Regions from separate parts of the Homo sapiens genome. Here regions 1, 2, 3, 5, 6 and 7 are each linked to region 4. The links are contacts of gene promoters, found by promoter capture Hi-C in blood cells and fetal thymus (Javierre and others, 2016). All regions are on one chromosome and are shown on one strand. Each heading gives the region's core, a stretch centred on a gene start or on the middle of the fragment in contact. The rest is flanking DNA. Distances are from core to core; before and after follow the strand shown. Region 1 overlaps TMEM209 (transmembrane protein 209). Region 2 holds the start of LINC03008 (long intergenic non-protein coding RNA 3008). Region 3 holds the start of ZC3HC1 (zinc finger C3HC-type containing 1). Region 4 holds the start of MESTIT1 (MEST intronic transcript 1, antisense RNA). Region 5 holds the start of LOC105375509 (a long non-coding RNA gene). Region 6 overlaps KLHDC10 (kelch domain containing 10). Region 7 overlaps KLHDC10 (kelch domain containing 10).

The links. Contacts are between HindIII fragments. The CHiCAGO score rates a contact against its expected background, and 5 or more counts as called.
Region 1: a contact is called between a fragment that was not itself captured here and the fragment with the promoter of MESTIT1 in region 4, in 1 of 17 cell types (megakaryocytes). The highest score is 7.3, in megakaryocytes.
Region 2: a contact is called between a fragment that was not itself captured here and the fragment with the promoter of MESTIT1 in region 4, in 1 of 17 cell types (megakaryocytes). The highest score is 5.1, in megakaryocytes.
Region 3: a fragment that was not itself captured here is called in contact with the fragment with the promoter of MESTIT1 in region 4 in 1 of 17 cell types (megakaryocytes); the score reaches 5.5 in megakaryocytes.
Region 5: a contact is called between a fragment that was not itself captured here and the fragment with the promoter of MESTIT1 in region 4, in 2 of 17 cell types (endothelial precursors and total B cells). The highest score is 5.6, in endothelial precursors.
Region 6: a fragment that was not itself captured here is called in contact with the fragment with the promoter of MESTIT1 in region 4 in 4 of 17 cell types (megakaryocytes, erythroblasts, fetal thymus and 1 more); the score reaches 10.2 in megakaryocytes.
Region 7: a contact is called between a fragment that was not itself captured here and the fragment with the promoter of MESTIT1 in region 4, in 1 of 17 cell types (megakaryocytes). The highest score is 5.0, in megakaryocytes.

What each region holds. Positions count from the first base shown.
Region 1 is chr7:130,166,399-130,169,215 of GRCh38, reverse strand. It overlaps TMEM209 (transmembrane protein 209), which reads left to right. Exons shown (of 15, transcript NM_032842.4): 15 at 2,711-2,817. The coding sequence ends at 2,765. Among named protein-coding and RNA genes, the nearest start is that of LINC03008, 26 kb to the right of the region's middle. The HindIII fragment of the contact is 377 bases long and covers 1,295-1,671 here.
Region 2 is chr7:130,139,558-130,142,675 of GRCh38, reverse strand. It overlaps LINC03008 (long intergenic non-protein coding RNA 3008), which reads right to left and starts at 945. Exons shown (of 2, transcript NR_149034.1): 1 at 904-945; 2 at 58-417. RefSeq lists enhancers at 384-1,047, 1,236-1,375, 1,556-1,635, 1,048-1,711. The HindIII fragment of the contact is 784 bases long and covers 1,360-2,143 here.
Region 3 is chr7:130,048,628-130,051,442 of GRCh38, reverse strand. It overlaps ZC3HC1 (zinc finger C3HC-type containing 1), which reads left to right and starts at 69. Exons shown (of 10, transcript NM_016478.5): 1 at 69-222; 2 at 2,299-2,410. The coding sequence starts at 77. RefSeq lists enhancers at 6-315, 1-735. The HindIII fragment of the contact is 1,631 bases long and covers 558-2,188 here.
Region 4 is chr7:130,489,401-130,492,573 of GRCh38, reverse strand. It overlaps MESTIT1 (MEST intronic transcript 1, antisense RNA), which reads left to right and starts at 1,597. Exons shown (of 2, transcript NR_004382.2): 1 at 1,597-1,732; 2 at 2,607-3,173. It overlaps MEST (mesoderm specific transcript), which reads right to left and starts at 489. Exons shown (of 12, transcript NM_002402.4): 1 at 235-489. The coding sequence starts at 260. RefSeq lists a silencer at 1,452-1,661. The HindIII fragment of the contact is 7,997 bases long and covers 1,022-3,173 here.
Region 5 is chr7:130,831,261-130,834,125 of GRCh38, reverse strand. All of the region lies in intron 3 of LOC105375508 (a long non-coding RNA gene), which reads right to left. LOC105375509 (a long non-coding RNA gene) reads left to right here and starts at 1,388. Exons shown (of 3, transcript XR_007060528.1): 1 at 1,388-1,458; 2 at 1,541-1,605. The HindIII fragment of the contact is 2,474 bases long and covers 230-2,703 here.
Region 6 is chr7:130,075,625-130,078,557 of GRCh38, reverse strand. All of the region lies in intron 1 of KLHDC10 (kelch domain containing 10), which reads right to left. Among named protein-coding and RNA genes, the nearest start is that of KLHDC10, 6.6 kb to the right of the region's middle. The HindIII fragment of the contact is 5,502 bases long and covers 1-2,933 here.
Region 7 is chr7:130,104,174-130,106,962 of GRCh38, reverse strand. The region is part of intron 2 of KLHDC10 (kelch domain containing 10); the gene reads right to left. Among named protein-coding and RNA genes, the nearest start is that of KLHDC10, 35 kb to the right of the region's middle. The HindIII fragment of the contact is 1,716 bases long and covers 566-2,281 here.

The DNA of each region.
Region 1 (2,817 bases), core at 234-2,733, 320 kb after region 4:
GCTTTTTTTTTTTTTTTTTTTGAGATGGAGTCTCGCTCTGTCACCTAGGCCGGAGTACAGTGGCACCATCTCAGCTCACTGCAACCTCTGCCTCCCAAGTAGCTGGAACTACAGATGCCCGCCACCATGCCGGGTATTTTTGGTAGAGACGGGGTTTCTCCATGTTGGCCAGGCTGGTCTCAAACTCCTGATCTCAGGTGATCCGCCTGCCCGGCCTCCCAAAGTGCTGTAATTACAGGTGTGAGCCACCACACCCAGCTATTAGCTTCTTTTATCATATATTTTTTAATGTAAGAAAGATTAGGAAACTAACTTTATTGAGGCATCTAAACTAACAGGGTTTTTTATTTTTAAATTATGAAAATAATGCATACTCAGTAGATAAGTATTTAAATAACACAGCAGTGTATAAACTAGAACTAATTTCTAATTATGTGTAGAGACAGTATCTCACTATATTGCCCAGGCTGTGATCTACCTGCCTTGGCCTTCTAACGTGCTGGGATTACAGGCATAAGCCACTCCACCTGGCTTTATTTTTGTTTCTTTTGCTTAAAAATGTATTGTATCCAAACATAGTACTTTATGATCTAATTTTTAGGCTTATGGCATATCTTGGACATTCTCCCATGTCAAATTTTCCCTAAAATGTCTAGGAATGTTTGGTTATAAATATACTTACACATATATATTAGATGGAATATGGAATTTGATATAAATTCCATATTGTTATTATTCCATGTTGTTAATACAGGTCAAGTATTCTTTATCTGAAATGCTTGGAACCAGGAGTGTTTCGGATTTGATTTTCTCCGATTTTGGAATATTTGCAATAATTACTGAGCATCCCTAATCTAAAAATCCCCCAAATGCTACAGTGAGCATTTCCTTTGAGCATCATGATGTCACTCAAAAAGTTTTGGGTTTTGGAGCATTTCGGATTTTCAGATTATAGGTGCTTAACCTGTATAATATAAATAAGCAATTAATTTTTGGTTCTAATTGAAAATGTATCTTTTCCTCTGTGGATCCAAATTGATATTTTGATGCATAAATGGTTTGTCATGATAGCATGAGGTTTGAGTGCCATATACGGTCTGTCATATGCTTTAAAATGAAAAAGTGCTTAGTGGAGCAGCACTTTTTCATTTACTGAAATGTAATGAAATTTACTGAAAGGCCAAAAGAAATTGATACAATTTTTAAAGCGCTATATTCTCTTAATGAGCAACTTATATATGGGAAATTAAGCATTTTAGACTAAAACTAGTGTTTTTAAACTCGGGGAAAAGCTTGGAAATTATTAACCTTTCGAACATGAATATTTTTTCAAATACATCCTAAAACAAATAGTTAAAAACTTTCCTATAACTTAAAAGAAATAAGTGAGTGGCTCAAATATAGTCCATTTGGATTTATGACCATAAACCCACAGATTGATCCAAATACATTATCAATTTAATGTCAGGTATTTGTGCAGTAACAGGAATCAGATGAATGTTCTACTTGCAAAAGGAAAAAAAATCTAGACAGACTTGACTGCACAGTGACTTACATGTTCTGTTTGGGAAAAGACACTGTAAAGTTTAAAGTTAATGACAAACTGAAAGCATTATTCTGCTATAATATGAGCAGTAGTAATTGGGTTTGCAAATATAGCAAATCCAAGCTTATATTTGTTATATATAAAGAACATATATGATTTTATTAGAAAAATGGACAAAGGTATGAAAGATTTCTTCATAAAGTGTGCAAACAGCTCCTAAACACAAAAAGATGCTTAGACTCATGTACAAACAAGTCAAAATTAACTTTTTTTTCTGTCAAATTTGATATTATTTGTAGTGTCAGTGAGGGTATGAAGAAATGGAAAATACAGTTGATAAAAATTACCTGTTTCGAAAGGCATTTTTGGCAGCTTTTTATCAAAGTTAATACATTCTTATAATTTTAAAAGTCATAGAGGGCTAAAAGTTCATGACAGAAATGAGCAATTCCCTGTATTCCCCAAGTCTGCTTCTCGAAGTGGACTGTATTCCCCAAGTGGCTTTTTCTTCAGTTATTACTCTCATAGTTCCAAATAATAGAGGTATACAGCTCTCTTGATTCTTCAGTTTCAGATATTATCTGTTGATTTTTTTATTTTGTTAGGTGAGTAATTTCTTTCTCTTATAGCCCTCTTATTCCCTCAGACTTTGAATACAGTCATACTACTCTCTGGAAGAGAAGTATATGTATTTTGTTGTTGTTGTTATATGTAGTAGGATTTAATGTATTACTAATACACATATGAAAACTCACTAAAGTATCCCCAGTAGTTAGTAAATTCCTAATTCAAATCAAGTAATACAGTTCTCTGAGAGGCTAGCATCTCCATATCTTCCATCTTTTAAATACAATTGATACTTTTACTTTAATCTTGCTTGTTAAAATTATTCTGTTAGCTATTACCTGGTGTAATAGTTCTTGTTTACTGAAAAACTGTCAACACTCCATAAATCTATTTATTCTAAATTTGGGTTTTAGGCATAGTTAAGAAAGTAATTACTGTTACTGGAATTCACCTGATAAACCATGTATAACATAATTCATTGCAGAATCACATTAAATATCAGTTAAACATGTATTATTCATAAAGTTTTTTGTTATTAGAAAAAGACCTTAAATGCTTGGCAACCAATTCTAATAAAAATTTTTTTTCTCTTTATAGGAGAGTTAATCTTGGTCTATCTGGTGTGAATATATTGTGGATCTTTGGCGAGTAGCAAGTCATATATTTAATTCTGACATTTAGACTATTTCACTGAACCAGAAGTC
Region 2 (3,118 bases), core at 502-3,001, 350 kb after region 4:
AGGTGAAAGCTAAATGAGGAGAGACCCGCCCCACACCTGAGTGGCCAGGCTGACTCCTGTGGTGGAACGAGTTTTTAATAAAACCAGAAGAGCTTCCCAATTCCACGCCTCGCTGCAGTCTCTTCACCTTGCTCCAGAGGAAAGACCCAGAGTATGGCAGGGCTGCGGTTAGCGAGGGCTTTGGTCAGCAGCTGGAGAGTGCCGTAGTGACATGGTGACAGTCCTCGGCCCCCAGGAGGGGCGGAGGCCACCCCTCTGGGACCCCCAGCCCTAGAATCCCATGCAGGAGTGACTCTGCTGTCCCATCACACTCACAGCTGCAGCAAGGATGCCTTTCCAGCAGTCACACTCCCACGCAGGGGTCAGCCTTCCTCCCAGGGGGAGCAGGGTGGAGCGGGAGCTGGTCCTCCCAGCATACTGCAGGCGGACAACAGTGGCCTGTTTCAGGTGACACCTGTCTTTGGGCCCAGGTCCCACTTCTGTGGTTGTCCCCAGGCTGAGCTGCCCCCTGGAAGGGTTTTCTGGAAAGGACCAGAGAGGTGTGGATTTCGGAATCTCTGAGAGCTCTGGCACCTCTGTTTTCTGCTCCCTGGGTTGAGTGGCCAGAAGAGCCTGTGTGCTTGCATTTTCGGTATGACCCCTGGCCCTTATGTGTCTCTGTGTCCCCAGGCCCCTGCTCAATTCTCCACTTCACCGAGGGTGCCTGACCCCTCTCCTTTTCCCTCCATCCCCCCACTTCTGAACGCACCCCACCGTGTGCATGGGAGGGTCCTTCCTCCCTGTGGCTTTTCCGGGGAGCCTTTTCTTCTCCCTGAAGTCACCCCCGCATATCCCGGAGAGCCACAGCGCCTATCCCCTGGGTTGCCATGGAAACAGCCTTCTTTCCTCTTCCCTCCTGTTTACCTTGGTCAGGGACTGCGGCAAAAACCAGCCCGTCGCTGGAGGAGAGGGAGAGCAGTGGGCGGGGGAGCAGGGAGGGAGCCAACCCGCTCCAAACCAGATCATTCCGGTTCAGAGCGGCTTCCCCTCCGGTCCTAGGAGCCTCTCCGACAAGGCGCGCTGGGCTGCGCAGGGAGGCCCTGGGCCGAGCTGGCCTTAGTGGGGAGGGCCTGAGCCCACCCTGGCCAGCACCCCCTCCCCAGTTCCGTCCGGCCTCCATGCGTCCCTCCTGCCAGTGCTGGCGCAGCGGGGCCTGGGGCGCTGTCCCTGATTGCTGGCTGTTCCCCGCACAGGGGCGCCCTGCTGGGGCGGGGGTGATGGGAGCAGAAGTGTCTCGGCCCCAAAGGTGCTTTCGCCCTCCTGGGACCCCCGGGCACTCTCCTGCGACAGGGATGCTCTGTGTGGCTCTGGCTTAAAGCTTCCCGCTGCGTTTAGAGAAGCCAAACCCTTCGTCCCAGCCCCGGGATAGGTGCGGGGCCGCCTCTTCGCGGGGATTCCCCTGGCTCCCACCGCAAGGCTTCTTCCCCTTGCAGAAGACACCAGAAGCTGGGTTTTGTCCCTGCCCCGAACACTCTGGTCACACTTTCTAGCTCCCCGTGCACACCGGGCGGGAGGCTTTCCTTGTTTCTACGCCACACAGCTCCTATTCCCCCTCCATGGGCCACTGTGGTCATCTTGCTCGTTTGCTGTGGTCTGATCGATCGCCTCCTCCCCAATGGAAACTTCCCGAAGGCAGGGCCCGCTCACGCAGCACCCCAGCACCAATGGCACGTGCCAGATGTTCGGTGAGCGACGGTGGCCTCGAGGATGGGACGCGCGGCGGCGCCGGGCTGCGGGGGCCACCTCCCGGCCGAGTCCCCTCCCCGCTAGCGGGCGGCAGCTTCTTAGTCGTCTGGGTGTACAGACTGAAATCCACGGCTCTTCCTCCCCAGCCATGTGCGCTGCAGGCGGCAAGTCCATGGCCAGCGGGCGGGTAGCCCAGCGCACCGGGCCTTGGGGAGCCGCCCGCAGCACGGACCGCCCTGGCCCCTGGCTTCACCGCCCCTGCGCGGCTGCTCCCAACCCAGAATCCCGGGAAGCCAGGGGTGACTTCACGTCCCCGAAAGCCCTTCTGAAAGAATTTTCTCAGTAACTATCCAGGCCCATGTGCCTGCCGCCGGGTCCCAGGAGGATGAAAGTTCTCATGAACGCGACCTTGCAAGCTTGCAGACTTGGACTCCCTTCTCTGGCCCTTGGCAAATCACTGAATTTGTCTTGTCTTGGCCTGCCAATCTGTGAAACGGGGATAAAACTTCTAGGCCTGCGATTCAATACAGGCTTGCCGAGGAGAAAATGAACTGAAAATGCTTGGCTGACATGGCAGGGGCTGCAGAGGCTGGGCTCTGGGTTAGTGTGTGTGTTTGGGGTCCGGGGTTAGATCCAGTGTAAAGCTGGAGTTCTCGTCCTGGATGCCCTAGTATGCAAGTAGCTCTGAGACACCCCTGTGCCTATTGTTCTTATAAACCGCGTCTTTGTGGGCAGCAAGCCTGTGCAGTGCAGGGTGAGCCCAGGCAGAGGCCGACATCCCGAACCATGACCTGATCTTAGCTGTTTCAGGGTGAGGTTTGGGTAGTAAATAACCCAGGTGCAGGAGATGCCTGGATGGCCTGGATGTATTTTTCTGGGGCTGGGAGAGTAACAAAGTTTGCTCCCTGACAGTGGGGTGGGGATTTTGAACACATCCTAGGCAGTCATGGTGAGAGCCTCCTCCACTCCCAGAACCTTGCGGTTCTAAGTGGCAGGTTCAAGGAGGATAAACTGACCAGTCTGACTCCTCTAAGGTGACACAGGCTGCATGGCAGCTGCTTTCTCTTTTCATGGATGTCATCTGCAATACTCTAAAGCTCCTGGCCTGCTGTGGGGCCCCCAAATAGTAAGTGGCCAGAGCTCCCAGCTGTCTCTGCCTTCTCTTCCCAAGTCCTGGAGCTGGGCTGTGGTGGCTCCTGACCTCCCTGAGTGGTGTTTGGCACCTACCTTCCTGCATGGGCTGCTGAGCTCCCCTGCTGAGCTGTCTGCTGGAGAATCTGAGAAGCCTCTTGCTTTTGCATTTGAGGCTGCAAGGCCAGTGTAGGGTGAGCAGATTGGCTGGGTTGGCTTTGTATGTCACTCAAAACTACCTCCTCTCACCTGGCTGTGGATG
Region 3 (2,815 bases), core at 124-2,623, 440 kb after region 4:
GGCGGATATTAACCTCCCAGGACGGAAGTTCCGGAGCCTTCAAACTCTCGGGGAAGCAACTCGGCAGCGGACCAAGATGGCGGCGCCCTGTGAGGGACAAGCGTTTGCCGTAGGGGTTGAAAAGAATTGGGGTGCAGTAGTTCGCTCCCCAGAAGGGACCCCCCAGAAAATCCGGCAGCTGATAGATGAGGGGATTGCCCCGGAAGAGGGAGGCGTGGACGCGTGAGTTCACGAGTTAACCCTGGGTCCGGCGTTGGAAGATTGAAGAAGGCTTGGGGAAGGGGTGGCGGGTTGGGGGAGGTTCCCCTCGGTCGGCGACTCGGGCAGTGGGGATGGCTTCTTAGAATCTGAAAGAAACTCTGGTTACTATGTTTGATCGGCTTTGATCTTCCCCTCGGGGTGTACCAGATTCCCAACCGCAGCCGAAATTTTGTCATCGGACATTATTTTTGGAAGTAAAGAGGACCGTTAACTGAATGAGTTCACTTGACTTCTCTTAATTGGGGATTCTTAACCTTTTTTTGTGCCGTGGACCCCTTTGGCTCTCTGGAGAAGCTTATTAACTCTCAGAATATTTTTAAATGCTTAAAGTAAATTACATAGGATTATAAAGGAAACCAGTTAGATTGGAATGTAGTTATCAAGATGGTAAAAGGAAAAAGTTACGCAGTAACAATGCTTTTTATTAAAGAGTCCATAATATCTAGTAGTATGTGTTGTCAACCATAATTTTGAAGTAGTGATGAGCACAAAGGTATTTGAAGACATGCAACCACCATAATGTGGGAACATTATTTCCATTGGTGACAAATTAGCAGGTACTGCTAATACTACTATGGTGTTTTTACCTTCATTCATAATTGAAGAAAATGCTAAATCTTGTCATTTAGAGAGAAATAAATGTCATTTTTACCCATCCAAGTTTATGGATGCTGTGAATTTTTTTTGGCCTAGAACCACACCCGCTTGAGGCTCTCTATGAATCTCTGAGAGTCTTAGAGTAAGTTTATTTCTTTTGAGCTATAATCGTTGATGTAATCCTATTTTTATTAAAATAATGCCTGTCGCCGGGCGCGGTGGCTCACGCCTATAATCCCAGCACTTTGAGGAGGCTGAAGCGGGCAGATCACGAGGTCAGGAGATCAAGACCATCCTGGCTAACACGGTGAAACCCCATCTCTACTAAAAATACAAAAAATTAGCCGGGCGTGGTGGCCCGCGCCTGTAGTCCCAGCTACTCGGGAGGCTGAGGCAGGAGAATTGGTTGAACCTGGGAGGCGGAGGTTGCAGTGAGCCGAGATCGCGTCACTGCACTCCAGCCTGAGTGACAGAGTGAGACTCCGTCTCTAAATAAATAAATAAATGCTTGTCTTTCAGCAATTCCCCAGGCACTGTTGAAATGCCTTCCACTGAAAATGAGAGAATTGCTTTGCTGAGTTTTTTTCTCCCTGATTTTTTTTTCATGAAATCTCCCGAAGATCTTTGATTCGAATTTTCTAATTGGTTCTTTTTTTTTTGGAAGGAGTGGGTATGAAAGGTCCCTCCAGGTAGAAATATCAAAATTGTTTTTTCTGCTGTTAAGAGTCGAATTTCTGCCAGGCGCTGTGGCTCACGCCTGTAATCCCAGCACTTTGGGAGGCTGAGGTGGGCCAATCACAAAGTCAGGAGTTACAGACCAGCCTGACCAACATGGTGAAACCCCGTCTGTCCTAAAGATACAAAAAATTAGCCGGGCCCACGCCTGGTGGTACGCGCCTGTAATCCCAGCTACTGGGGAGGCCGAGGCAGGAGAATTGCTTGAACCTGGGAGGTGGAGGTTGCAGTGAGCCGAGATCGCACCGTTGCACTCCAGCCTGGGCAACAGAGCGAGACTCCATCTCAAAAAAAAAAAAAGTCGAATTTCTGAAGAGATTCAAATTGTATAATGCATACTTGAAGTCTTGAGTCTTATTTTCTGTCTACTAAAGTTATGCCAAATACTTGTGGAGAACAGTGAGTGAGTGAGGAGAATAGTTTGCTAGGATTAGTGGAGCCCTGTAGAGGTAGAAATTGAAGTTTAGATATGGGTAAACTGTAAAGAGTTTTGAATGCCAGACTGAAAAATTTGGATTTTATTTAGTAAGTATTATAAAACCATTGAAAATAATAAGCTGAGGAATGACATGAGTAAAATGATTTTTAGGAAGCTTAAAATCCAGCGTTGGTGTGATTTATGATACGATGTGTAGAGAAGCTAGATAACATTTAAGCAGAGGGTACTGTGAAAGGTTTACCAACAGTTTTGCCACTTTATATTAGGAAGGACACGTCTGCCACATCCCAGTCAGTTAATGGATCACCCCAAGCGGAACAACCTTCATTGGAATCTACAAGCAAAGAAGCCTTCTTTAGCAGAGTGGAAACATTTTCTATATCCTTTTTTAGTTCATGTGAATTGCACTTTCTGCCTGCTTCTAGAATTCCTCCAAGGTATTACACCACTTACTGTGATGCTTTAAACTTAAGAATAAAACCTTGGTAAGAAATTATATAGGAAAGTCAGCATCCTAATATGTTATCACTCAGAGGGACAGTTGAGGTTATCTAACCTTTTCTTTTTACAGAAGAAAAAACTAAGAGCCTGAGAAAAGAAGAAATAATAACTAATACTTGTATATAGTATGTTTTTGTATATATTATCACATTCGATCTTGACCTTAAACCTATGAAAATAAGCATTATTATTATACTTGTTTTACAGAAGAGGAAACAGTTTGGGGCAGGTTATATGACTTGCCCAAGATGAACCTGTTAGCAAATGGCAGATCCAGGATTA
Region 4 (3,173 bases), core at 348-2,847:
CGGGGTCTAGAAATCCTAACCCAAGGAGGTCCCGCGTTCTGAACATTCCATTGCGGGCAGGAGTGACACCCCCTCCTCAAGTAGGCAGAGCGGGCGCGGAATGCGTGCCGCCTGTCGGTAGAGTTTTCGCCCAGAGGCAGCCCCAGCTCGGACACGGGCACACAGTCCTCCGCTCGCCTGCGCCCTAGTCCCAGGGCCGCCAGCCACACCCCCTCGTTCCCACCGCACACTCACCTGCGGAGGCGATCTCGGCGCACCATGGCCGCGTTATCCCATGCCGCCCGCCGCAGCGTTGCAGAGCACCGGGCGCCGCAGAGCCCGCAGCCGTGCAGAGCTGGCCAGCAGCGGGGGCGCAGCCCGCAGCCCACAGCCCGCGCAGGGCGGCGCCGCGCCGGGCAGCTACAGCCACTCCGGCGTGCGCTGCGGCACTGCGCTTGCGAGGCGCAGCTGCCGCAGAGGAGGTGCCGGGGTGTGCTGGTTGCCGCGGCAGCGCGGAGCGAGTGGGCACCGACTTTTAGAGCCCACCCGCGCCCCGCCCCTAGCCCGCCCATCGCCGCAGAACCCCTACCGCCTGCTCCCTTGCTCGCCGCAGAGCCCCTCCCAGCCGCTCTACCACCGCCATGGCCACAAAGATGGGGTGCCCCTCTAACAGTGGCTCCTTTAGGGGGCACCTTCAGGGGTGTCGAGCCCCCTCCCCAAGACCCCGCTGCTCCCTCGTTAACCGCCAACCCTGAGCCCGAGATTCTGCTGCAGAAACCCTCCCCTGATGAGTTAAGGCCACGGGCAAAAACAGCAGACCCCTGAGTGCCCCAACTCTTTCCTTAGACCACCCACAAACCCCACAGGCCGCCCACAAACCCCACAGGCTGCCCACAAGCCCCACAGGAGGATGGCCGCTCGAACTAAGGGGCAGCAGGGCTCTGGGGTGCCGGCCGTGGCGCCTGCTCCCATCCCTCGTTCGAAGCGTGGGTACTGAACCGTGAGAGGTGGCGAGCCACGAGGGCCCTATGCGCCCTAAGCTTAACTACCGGTAACCACCAAGGGCACGAGCAAGCGGCTAGGGAGCAACAAGCTCTGTTGGACCCACCACCAAGCTAGTAAACAGATTCATGGGATGGCCACTATGGCCAAAGTTGCACAAAGTCCGGTTTCTCCCGCTCCAGCCACCGCCGCTGCGCGGGGCAGGTTTCCTTTACAGCAGCGCGACGTGGTCAGCATGCCAGACGCCTGGCCACAGCAGCGCCCTCGCAGCCCCGCTCGCTGCATGCGCCGGTCCGCGCTGCACAGAACAGTGGGCACAATTAGGAGAGCAAAGCCCCCTTTATTTACGTAAGATAGAATCACAATGCAAGGGCCCAGAGGCACAAGAAAGAGGGAGGAATTTTTCTAATCCATAATCCTTTAAAAGGCATCCCTTACGCCTTTGAAAAGTGTAGAGTATCACGAAGTGTCTGTGTTCATTTTCTGACCGTAAACTGAAATACTGGTGAACAAACGTGGGGTGCGAGCGGGTGAGCGGGGCGGCCGGCCGGTGCCCGCTGCATCCAGAGGGGGCGCTGCAGGCCTCCCTTCGGCTGCGCACGGCCCGGGCCCTCCGCGGCTCTGCAACTCTGCACCCCGAAAGGTTCGGTGCTGGACCGCGGGGCATCCAACCCGGGACCGGGGGCGACCCACGGACACTGAGGAAACTACCGCCTATAAGCCTATCATCAGAACCTCTGGCACAACACAGGTACACTTCTGCAGGGGTCTGGTTGCCCCCAGAAAAAGCACTCATGAAACAAATGCTGATTTAGCACCTACAGGGCACTAAGAACCGGGGGTGCGAAATAAATGAGAAATAGCCCCGGCCCGAAAACAACACACGGGCCATCTGGAGGGGAAGACAGACAAGAACTGCCACTTTGTAAAATTTTCCTTTTAATTTCCTAGCGACGTTTGTGGCAGTTGACCCACTCCTCCCTAACGTGTAAGGCCCTCAGAGGCAGAGCCCAAGTATTATTCACCTTTTGTAGCCCCAGAGCCCGCCACGGTGCCGGCCACAAAGCTGGCCCCTAATAAATACTGCTTGAATGAGTACAAGAATTTGAGGGCGCACAGGGGAGGAAGTAATTAAGGGGAGGGGCGAAGGGTGGTCTTGAATGATGAATAGACATTTACCAGAGAGACAAAGAACATTCCAGCCGGAGGGGACGGCTTTCGCAAAGCACCGGAGGCTCAGGGCCGCGTGTTTGGGGAAAACGGTTAGTCCTTTGAGCCGGCAAAAAATTAGGATAGCAAGAGAATTTCATCGTAGGGAATTAGGAATTTGTTCTAGAGAAAATGAGAAGCCACAGATGGATTTAAACTCTTTATGGCCTTAATTGGTTACTTAACAAAATTTAAATTAGTCTCTTTACAAGTCAAAGATTACCTATTTTAACTACCACTACCTTTTAAAGACTGAATTACTCTGCAAAATCTAAATCGGTTCTTCCAAAAAGGTAAAGGCTTTCCTATTTTAATAATAACAATAACAAAAGCCTTTGCATTATATATTTTTCATATTTATTGTTAATGGAAACTTTGAGTCCTACAAACAAATTCCACACTTTCATTCTCACCAGGCCAGAAACACCAGCATCCAAGATGAAGGCAATTTTCTGTTTATGGACTGAGTACCCCACAAAAGATCTTATTCTGAAGGCCATGGAACATGTCTACCCACATGGATCAAGTGGGCAGACTGGAGGAGAAACAGTTTAAAGGCCCTGGGGGAAGGAGGGAGCGCCAGGGAGAGCTCCTGAAGACAACAGGAATTCCAAGTCTGGCACTCGGGAGAAATCCTCCCTTCAGACATTATTGATGTCTGGCCGAGGAGTTAGGAAAAACTTCCTTGAAGGAGGGATTGAGGTTGAGATGGGCATGGAACCCAGATCTTAGGCAGAGAAAGCATATTCCTGTTTGGAAGAACCCTGAGTACAGAAGTCAGCTCAAAGATATCAGCTTGGCCCAACCAGGAATTCGCTGTGGGAAGTCTAAGAGAGAAAATGCTGGCCATAATCCCCCAGGAGCCAAAGAGTTAACGAATCTTCTAAATGTGCCTGATTTACTTCCAGAAAGGAGCTTCCTCCGCAGGGGGAGAATTTGACCCAAGGTATAAAACACTTGGAGCCCTGAGAAAACACACAGCC
Region 5 (2,865 bases), core at 217-2,716, 340 kb before region 4:
CAACAGATGGACGATTAGAAATAATGAATTAGCAAGGACATGGGACACAAGACTTATAATAAAAAGTCAATATTTTTTACAGTGAGGCTCAAAGGACTTTGTTGAAGGCTATACTCTAAAATACTAAGGCATTAAATGCATATTTTAAATTTGCCCTTTAAGTTTTGGGGTGGTTGAGAAATTCAGTAAAAAATATTTCCAAATAACATGCAGAAGTTGTTTTTAAGCTTAAAAGCTCATATTTTAGCTACACCCACACAGATGATGTAGAAAACAGCTGAATTTCGGTGTATCTGAATGGTCCAGATTATGTTCCTTCTGAAAGAGACAGTTTTACGTACGATCATTTTTCATATGAAGCATATAAAAAGACACCCAGAAACTACCACGTATTTACCACATAGACAATGTCCATCTTTATCTGTAATTCAAAACCATGTAATTCCTTTTATGCAACAGACTGCAGTGTGTGAGAAGTATGTCAAGAGAAGAGTAAAAAAACAACCAGGAGCTGGGCGCAGTGGCTCATGCCTGTAATCTCAGCACTTTGGGAGGCCAAGGCGGGCGGATCACGAGGTCAGGAGATCGAGACCACCCTGGTTAACACGGTGAAACCCCGTCTCTACTAAAAATACAAAAAATGAGCTGGGCGTGGTGGCGGGCACCTGTAGTCCCAGCTACTCAGGAGGCTGAGGCAGGAGAATGGCGTAAACCTGGGAGGCGGAGCTTGCAGTGAGCCGAGATCGCGCCACTGCACTCCAGCCTGGGCGACAAAGCGAGACTCTGTCTCAACAACAACAAAAAAACAACCAGGAGTACATTCATTAAAAAAAAACTCAGCTGAGTGCGGTGGCTCAGGCCTGTAATCCCAGCACTTTGGGAGGATGAGGCAGCCAGATCACCTGTGGTCAGGAGTTTGAGACCAGCCTGACCAAAATGGTGAAATCCCCTCTCTACTAAAAATACAAAAATTAGCCAGGCGTGGTAGCACACGCCTATAGTCCCAGCTACTCGGGAGGCTGAGGAAGGAGAATCGCTTGAATCCAGGAAGCGGAGATTGCAGTCCGTCGAGATTGTGCCACTGTACTCCAGCCTGGGTGACAGAGCGAGACTCTGTCTCAAAATAAATTAATTAACTAAATAAAAGAAATTTAAAAAATTTTAAGTCAATGCTATTTTTATACACTAACAACAACAAAAAAATTAGACCACGGAATTTGTAAAAACCAGGTTGGCCTTACATTCTGTCACAATATGTGATGTCAGAAAATAAGAGAACATTGCCTAACAAGTTTTTTTCCTTTAAAATTATGCTATTTATTTGACATGATATATAAACTCAAAGCATTTTATCAAGTTACTTCCTGCTCCCCCATAAATAGAATAACTCTGGTTAATTTGGTCAGCCCAAATACAGTTTAACAAGTTTTGAGGGGAAATGTTTGTCATCTGTGTAAGGTTGTGCTGGTTTTCATGGTGAAATTGTGGTGTTCCTTCATTGTGGCTATTTTCCAGTAAAAATTATGATGTTGTATTTCAGCTACCTGTAAGAAGAATCAAGATAAAGAATTCATGAATGATAAAAACACTTTGAAAAGACTGGTGGTAAGTATCAAATGATTCAAAAACAAGTAATTTTAAGATACCTTTAAGTGTACTTACAAAACATACCTTTTGGGCATGTGTACAAAATATAATTTTTAGAGTAACAAATGTACAAAAATAACAGGTAGGGCATAACAAAGTCGGAGGGTAGAAGATAATTTTATCAAATATAATTCTGTGTTTCATTCATTAGGCATTAATTACTGACAAGTTTATTTTTAGCTTTTTATTGAAATATAATACGCACATATAAAGTGTAGAGCTCATTGAATTTTCACAAAATGAATACGCGTACTTGAAAAAACCGCAGAGATCAAGAAACAAAAAACATGATTCACATCTGAGGAAGATAAATATATTTTTGAAAATTAAAAGTTCCACTAGAACAAAATTAAAAAAAAAAATACCCCACCAAAACTGTAACATTAATGAAACTGCAATTCTCTTAAGTCAACAGCAGAGGGTGCCCTTGAACTGTGAAATATAGTCTGCCAACTAAAATCTTTACCCTTGCCAGATATTGCTGGTCCAGGAAAAAGATGGGACATTTCCAGATGAATGGGAAAGGGTAGACAACATCCAAATGAAGTCTCTGTATAAAGGGAATGTAAAATAAAAATCAAACACCTCAACTAATAAAAATTCCCTTTCACAAAATGAAGAAGAAACTGATGGACGCTACCAACCTGAATGTAACATTTTTTACCATTTGCAGATCTGAAAGAAACACCTAGAATGATACATTAAAAAACCCAGAACAGGAACAGACAAAACAAAACAAAAAAAAAACAGCAAACAAAACCCCAGGAAGAAATAAAATGAGAGTCTTGCAGTAATAGTGGAAGAGCTGCTTTGGGCCAATTCTCTTGCAAATAATGACCATCATTCCATTCCAAATATAAAAACGAACTACTTGATGGCCCTGGAGAACAACCAAAAGGAAGCAGAAAGGGAGAGAGGATTGGCACTTGGCAGAAGATAAGAATAGCACTGTGTAAACTTTCCATGTTAATGGCTTTTAGCCTGAGCGCAGGCAGCCCACAGTTCTCCTCAGAGAGTTTACTAAATCTTGGGTAGAAACCCACAGCCTTAGAAGCTTAAGGAATCAAAAGACAGGGTTTGAGGCAACCATGATGGATATAAAGATGGAGGCAGTTACGTGTTGAATGGTGTCCCCCCAACATTCATATGCTGAAGTCCCAACCTGCAGCACCTCAGGATGTGACCTTACTTGGAAATAAGGTCATGCAGATATAGTTA
Region 6 (2,933 bases), core at 360-2,859, 410 kb after region 4:
GACAGAGCGAGACTCTGTCTCAAAAAAAGAGTGAAAAGGAAGGCAGGGCGCGGAGGCTTATACCTGTAATCCCGGGAGGCCAAGACAGAATGATCACTTGAGCCCAGGAGTTTGAGATCAGCCTGGGCAACATAGCAAGACTCCATCTCTATTTTATTTTATTTTTATTTATTTTTTATTTTTGGAGACGGAGTCTTGCTCTGTCACCCAGGCTGAAGTGCAATAGCGCAATCTTTGCTGACTGCAACCTCCGCCTCCAGGGTTCAAGCGATTCTCCTGCCTCAGCCTCCTGAGCAGCTGGGACTATAGGCATGCACTACCACATCCGGCTAATTTTTTTGTGTGTGTTTTCAGTAGAGACGGGGTTTCACCATATTGGCCAAGCTGGTCTCAAACTCCTGCCCTCAAGTGATCCGCCCGCCTCAGCCTCCTAAAGTGCTGGGATTACAGGCATGAGCCAACACGCCAGGCCTATTTAAAAAAAAAGAAAAAAAAATGAAAAGGAGAAGATAAAATTATCATTATTCAGTAATGATATGATTATTTAGCTATACCTGTTATTCTCTAGAAAAACAACTGGGAAACTATTATAGATAATATTAGAATTCTTAACGTGGCTAGGTATAAAATTAATACTCAAAATTTAATAGCATTCTCATATTCAAACAACCACATAAAAGTTATAAAAGAAAGTAGAAACCCCGGCCGGGCGCGGTGGCTCTCGTCTGTAATCTCAGCACTTTGGGAGGCCGAGGCCGGTGGATCACGAGGTCAGGAGATCGAGACCATCCTGGCTAACATGGTGAAACCCCATCTCTACTAAAACTACAAAAAATTAGCTGGGCGTGGTAGCAGGTGCCTGTAGTCCCAGCTACTTGGGAGGCTGAGGCAGGAGAATGGCGTGAACCCGGGAGGCGGAGCTTGCAGTGAGCCAAGATGGTGCCACTGCACTCCAGCCTGGGCGACAGAGCAAGACTCCGTCTCAAAAAAAAAAAAAAAAAAGAAAGAAAAAGAAAAAAGAAAGTAGTAGAAACCCCATTTACAATAGCAACAAACAAGATAAACACCAAGGAATAAACATAATAAGAAATGTGAGGCCTATATAAAAAAATAAACAACTTTTTAATGTTGATAGATACAAAACAATACTTGAATGACAATAAATACATATACTGTTTTTTTTTTTTTTTTTTTTTTTTTTTTTGAGACAGAGTCTTGTTCAGTCACCCAGGCTGGAGTGCAGTGGCACAATCTTGGCTCACTGCAACCTCTGCCTCCCAGGTTCAACAATTCTCCTGCCTCAGCCTCCCGAGTAGCTGGGATTACAGGCACCTGCCACCAAGAACGGCTAAGTTTTATATTTTTAGCAGAGATGGGGTTTCCCCATGTTGGTCAGACTGGTCTCAAGCTCCTGGCCTCAAGTGATCCGCCTGCCTCAGCATCCCAAAGTGTTGGGATTAAAGGCGTGAGCCCCCATGCCTGGCCACATATACTGTTCTTGAACATAAAGAAATGAATATAGACCCTGTTTTTGAACCTCAAAACGATGTCAATTATCTCTAAATTAATCTATAAATATAATACAATACCAATAAAAATGCCAACAGGACAGAGGAGCAGGACTTGGTTAGCTAATTCTAAGCCATATAGAAAAATAAACAAAGAAAACTTCCCAGGAAAACTCTGGGAAGTAGAATGAGGGAAGATGATAACCAAGGAATAGAGTCATTAGGTATAAATAGGTAATCTGATCAATGAAACAGAATAAAAGTCCAGTAATAACCTCAAACTGTAGGAACTAAGTACACCTATAGACAACATTTCAATCAGCAGGGCAAAGCTGAACTAAATGAAGGACACTGCCATAACTGGGCAGCCATCTGGAAGAAAAGTATAGTTGGATTCCCACCTCGACACTTTATTTAACTTACATTTTGTGTGGGTAAGTGCATTTAACTTAAAAATAAAATTACAGAAGTACCTGGAGAAAACACAAGAATATTTAATTTGAATTAGAAATAATAATAAAATAGGAAAGGCCTTTCTTATGACACAAAACCTAGACTCTGAAAAGACTGATAAATTTCACAACAAAACATTTAAAACATTTAATTTCTGATGAAAAAATAGACCATAAACAAAGTCAAAACGCAAATGAAAAACTGTGAAAAATATCTGCAACGTGTCAATGGCTAAGAACTGATTTCATTAAAATACAGAGTTCCTATAAACCAGGGGTCCGCAAGCCCCAGGCCATGGACCCCTGGTACCGGTCCATGGCCTGTTAGGAACCTGGCCACATAGCAGGAGGTGAGTGGTGGGCGAGTGAGCATTCCCGCCAGAGCTTGGCCTCCTGTCAGATCAAGCATTAGATTCTCATAGGAGTGCTAACTCTACGGTGAACTGTGCATGCAAGGGATCTAGGCTGTGCACTCCTTTTGAGTCTCTAGTGCCTGATGACCTGAGGTGGAACAGTTTCATCCTGAAACCATTCCCCCCACTCCTCCACCCCACCATCCCGGTCCATGGAAAAATTGTCTTCCACGAAACTGGTCCCTGGTGCCAAAAAGGTTGGGTACCGCCTTTATAAACAATATGAACCATCCCAATAGAAAAATGAACAAAAAATATAAACAGATCTATAGATAAAGGAAACAAATAAATGGCTCTTTTATCTACCTATTGGAAAGACACTTAAGAAAACTATTCCTATTAAACTGACAATTTAAATAACGTTTGATAACCCACTCCGTTACCAAAAGAACAAGGAAGACAGCACTCGAACAACAACAGGGAAACATAAACTTGAAATTTGACAGAATCTATCAAAATTTAAGCAGTAAACATAAATCCTTTGACCCAGAAACTGTACTTCTACAAATTTATCCTAAAGAAAGACTCTCTCATGTGCAAAAGTTATATATGTATAGGGC
Region 7 (2,789 bases), core at 174-2,673, 390 kb after region 4:
GTCTTGCTCTATTGCCCAGGCTGGAACGTAGCAGTGTAATCACTGCTCACTGCAGCCTTGACCTCCCAGGTTCAAGCAATCCTCTCATCTCAGCCTCCCAAGTAGCTGGGACCACAGGTGTGTGCCACCACGCCCGGCTAATTTTTGAATTTTTTCTTAGAGACAGAGTGTTGCCCAGGCTGGTCTCCAACTCTTGGGCTCAAGAGATCCTCCCACCTCAGCCTCCCAAAGCGCTGGGATTACAGGCATGAGCCACTGTGCGCCCAACACAAAGTTTGTATTCAAATGTAACATACAGAAAAGCATATATGTCATAAGGGTACTGGATGCATTGTAACAAAATGAACACATTAAATATCAAATTTTATTAAATGTTTTATTTAATACAGCAAAGTCACAATTTTTCTTTAAGCCTATTAAAATAGTAAACTAAATACATTCCACAGATAAGGTCCATTTGATCTTGATTTCTTATTTAGATTTGTCCCTGCAATCTTATGTATTTTTTATTTACCGCTCTTTCTCGCTTTATTTTCCCACTTTTCTGATTTTATTGAAATAAGCTTTCTTTTTTCCCCTACAAAGATCTGTATCTTATTACCCCTAACACTTGCTGAAAAACAAACTTTTATTTTTTAACACTCTTCAGAAAGAACCACATCTGGAAAGACTCGCCTGTTAATGGTGGTTGAGTGAAGATGTGAGGCAGGATCTTTGCTTTTTAAATTTAACTCCTTTTATTGTTAAATATGGCATGCATTAGAATTTACATAAATATAAATGTACAGATTATTATTTATTTTATTTATTTATTTTGAGACGGAGTTTTGCTCTTGTTGCCCAGGCTGGAGTGCAACGGCGTGATCTTGGCTCACTGCCTCCGCCTCCCAGGTTCAAGCGATTCTCCTGTCTCAGTCTCCCGAGTAGCCAGGATTACAGGCATGCACCACCATGCCCAGCTAATTTTGTATTTTTAGTAGAGGTAGGATTTCACCATGTTGGTCAGGCTACTCTCAAACTCCTGAACTCAGGTGATCCACCCACCTTGGCTTCCCAAAGTGCTGGGATTACAGGCGTGAGCCACCGCGCCCGGCCTTAAATGTACAAATTATTAAAAAGAGAACACGTAACCACCATCCAGCTCAAGAAACACAATACTGCATAAAGTGCTTAATAAATTATTAAAATAGGAACATATAACCATCACCCAGGTCAAGAAACAGAATACAGCCAGCACCCAGAAACCCTTTGACTGCCCATCTTGATCACACCCTCCAACCTCCCTTCACTTCTAGAGTATCCTACTTCCTGATTTTTAGGGCAATCATAAAAATCTGTTGTCTTTTTATAGCTTTATTATACCTAGGTATGCATCTCTAAACAATACTGTTTATTTTGGCCTAGTTTTAAAGTGTATTTGAATAGAATAATATATGTAGAATAATATAGTATATTTTCTTTCTGGGCTCTTTTATTCACAATTATGTTTTTGAGATTCATCCCTGTTCTAGGGGAAAAGAAGTGGTCTGTTCATTTCCCTTGCCAAATATTATTTATTTGTATGAATATATGTCACAATTTATTTATCCAGTCTAAGTTGCGTGAAGAGGCATTTTGGGTTGTTTCAAATTTGTGGTTCTTAATGTTGCTACAAACATTTTTGCACATGTTGCAAGTGCACAGGGGCTCACATTTCTGTTGGCTATAAATGTAAACATGGAATTTCTGAATCTTAATGTATGTAAATCTTCACCTTCGTTTGGTAAAGCCAAAATGTTTTCAAAATGGTTGTACCACTTTACATATCCAAGGGCAGCATGTGAGAATTCCTGTTGTTCCATATCCTTGCCAATACTTGGTATTGCCACTGTCAGTCTTTTTAATGTAGCAATTCCTGTGAGTTTGTAGAGCTCTCGTGGTTTTACTATTCATTTCTCTCATTGCAATGAGGGTGAGCGCCTTTTCATGTTTATTGGCCATTTGAATTTTTCTTTTGGGAAATGCCTGCTGATATGGTTTGGATCTGTGTCCCCGCCCAAATCTCATGTTCAATTGTAATCCCCAGTGTTGGAGATGGGGCATGGTGGGAGGTGACTGGATCACGGGGACGAAGTTCTCATGAATGCTTTAGCACCATACCTCCTTGGTACTGTATAGTGATGAGTTCTCACAAGATCTGGTTGTTTAAAAGTGCATAGCACCTCCCCTCAACTCCTCTTGGTCCTGCTCCTGCCATGTAAGACACCTGCTCCCACTCTGCCTCTTGCCATGAGTAAAAGCTTTCTGAGGCCTCTCCAGAAGCAGATGCTACCATGCTTCCTATACAGCCTGCAGAACCGTGAGTCAATTAAACCTCTTCTTTATAAAGTACCCAGTCTCAGGTATTTATTTATACCAGTGCAAGAACAGATTAAGAACACCTGCTTAAGCCTCTTACATACATTCTCTCATTGAACTGTCTTTTTTGAAATTGATTTGTAGAAATGTTATATATGCTTGCAGTAAGGATCCTGACTTTTCCCCCTATGTATTTCTGTATTATTTGAATTTTTCTTTTAGTAAGTAGATAATACTACACCTGTAAATTTTAAAACAAAAAATTCTAGGACCTTTAGTACAACTCTCAATTTAATTTTAGTTACAGAATGTTATACAGTTGACCCTTGAACAAAATGAATTTGAACTGCACAAGTCTATTTATATGCAGATTTTCCTCTGCCTCTGCCACTCCTGAGACAGCAAGCCCAACTCCTCCTTTTCCTCTTCCTCCTCAGCTTTCTCAATGTAAA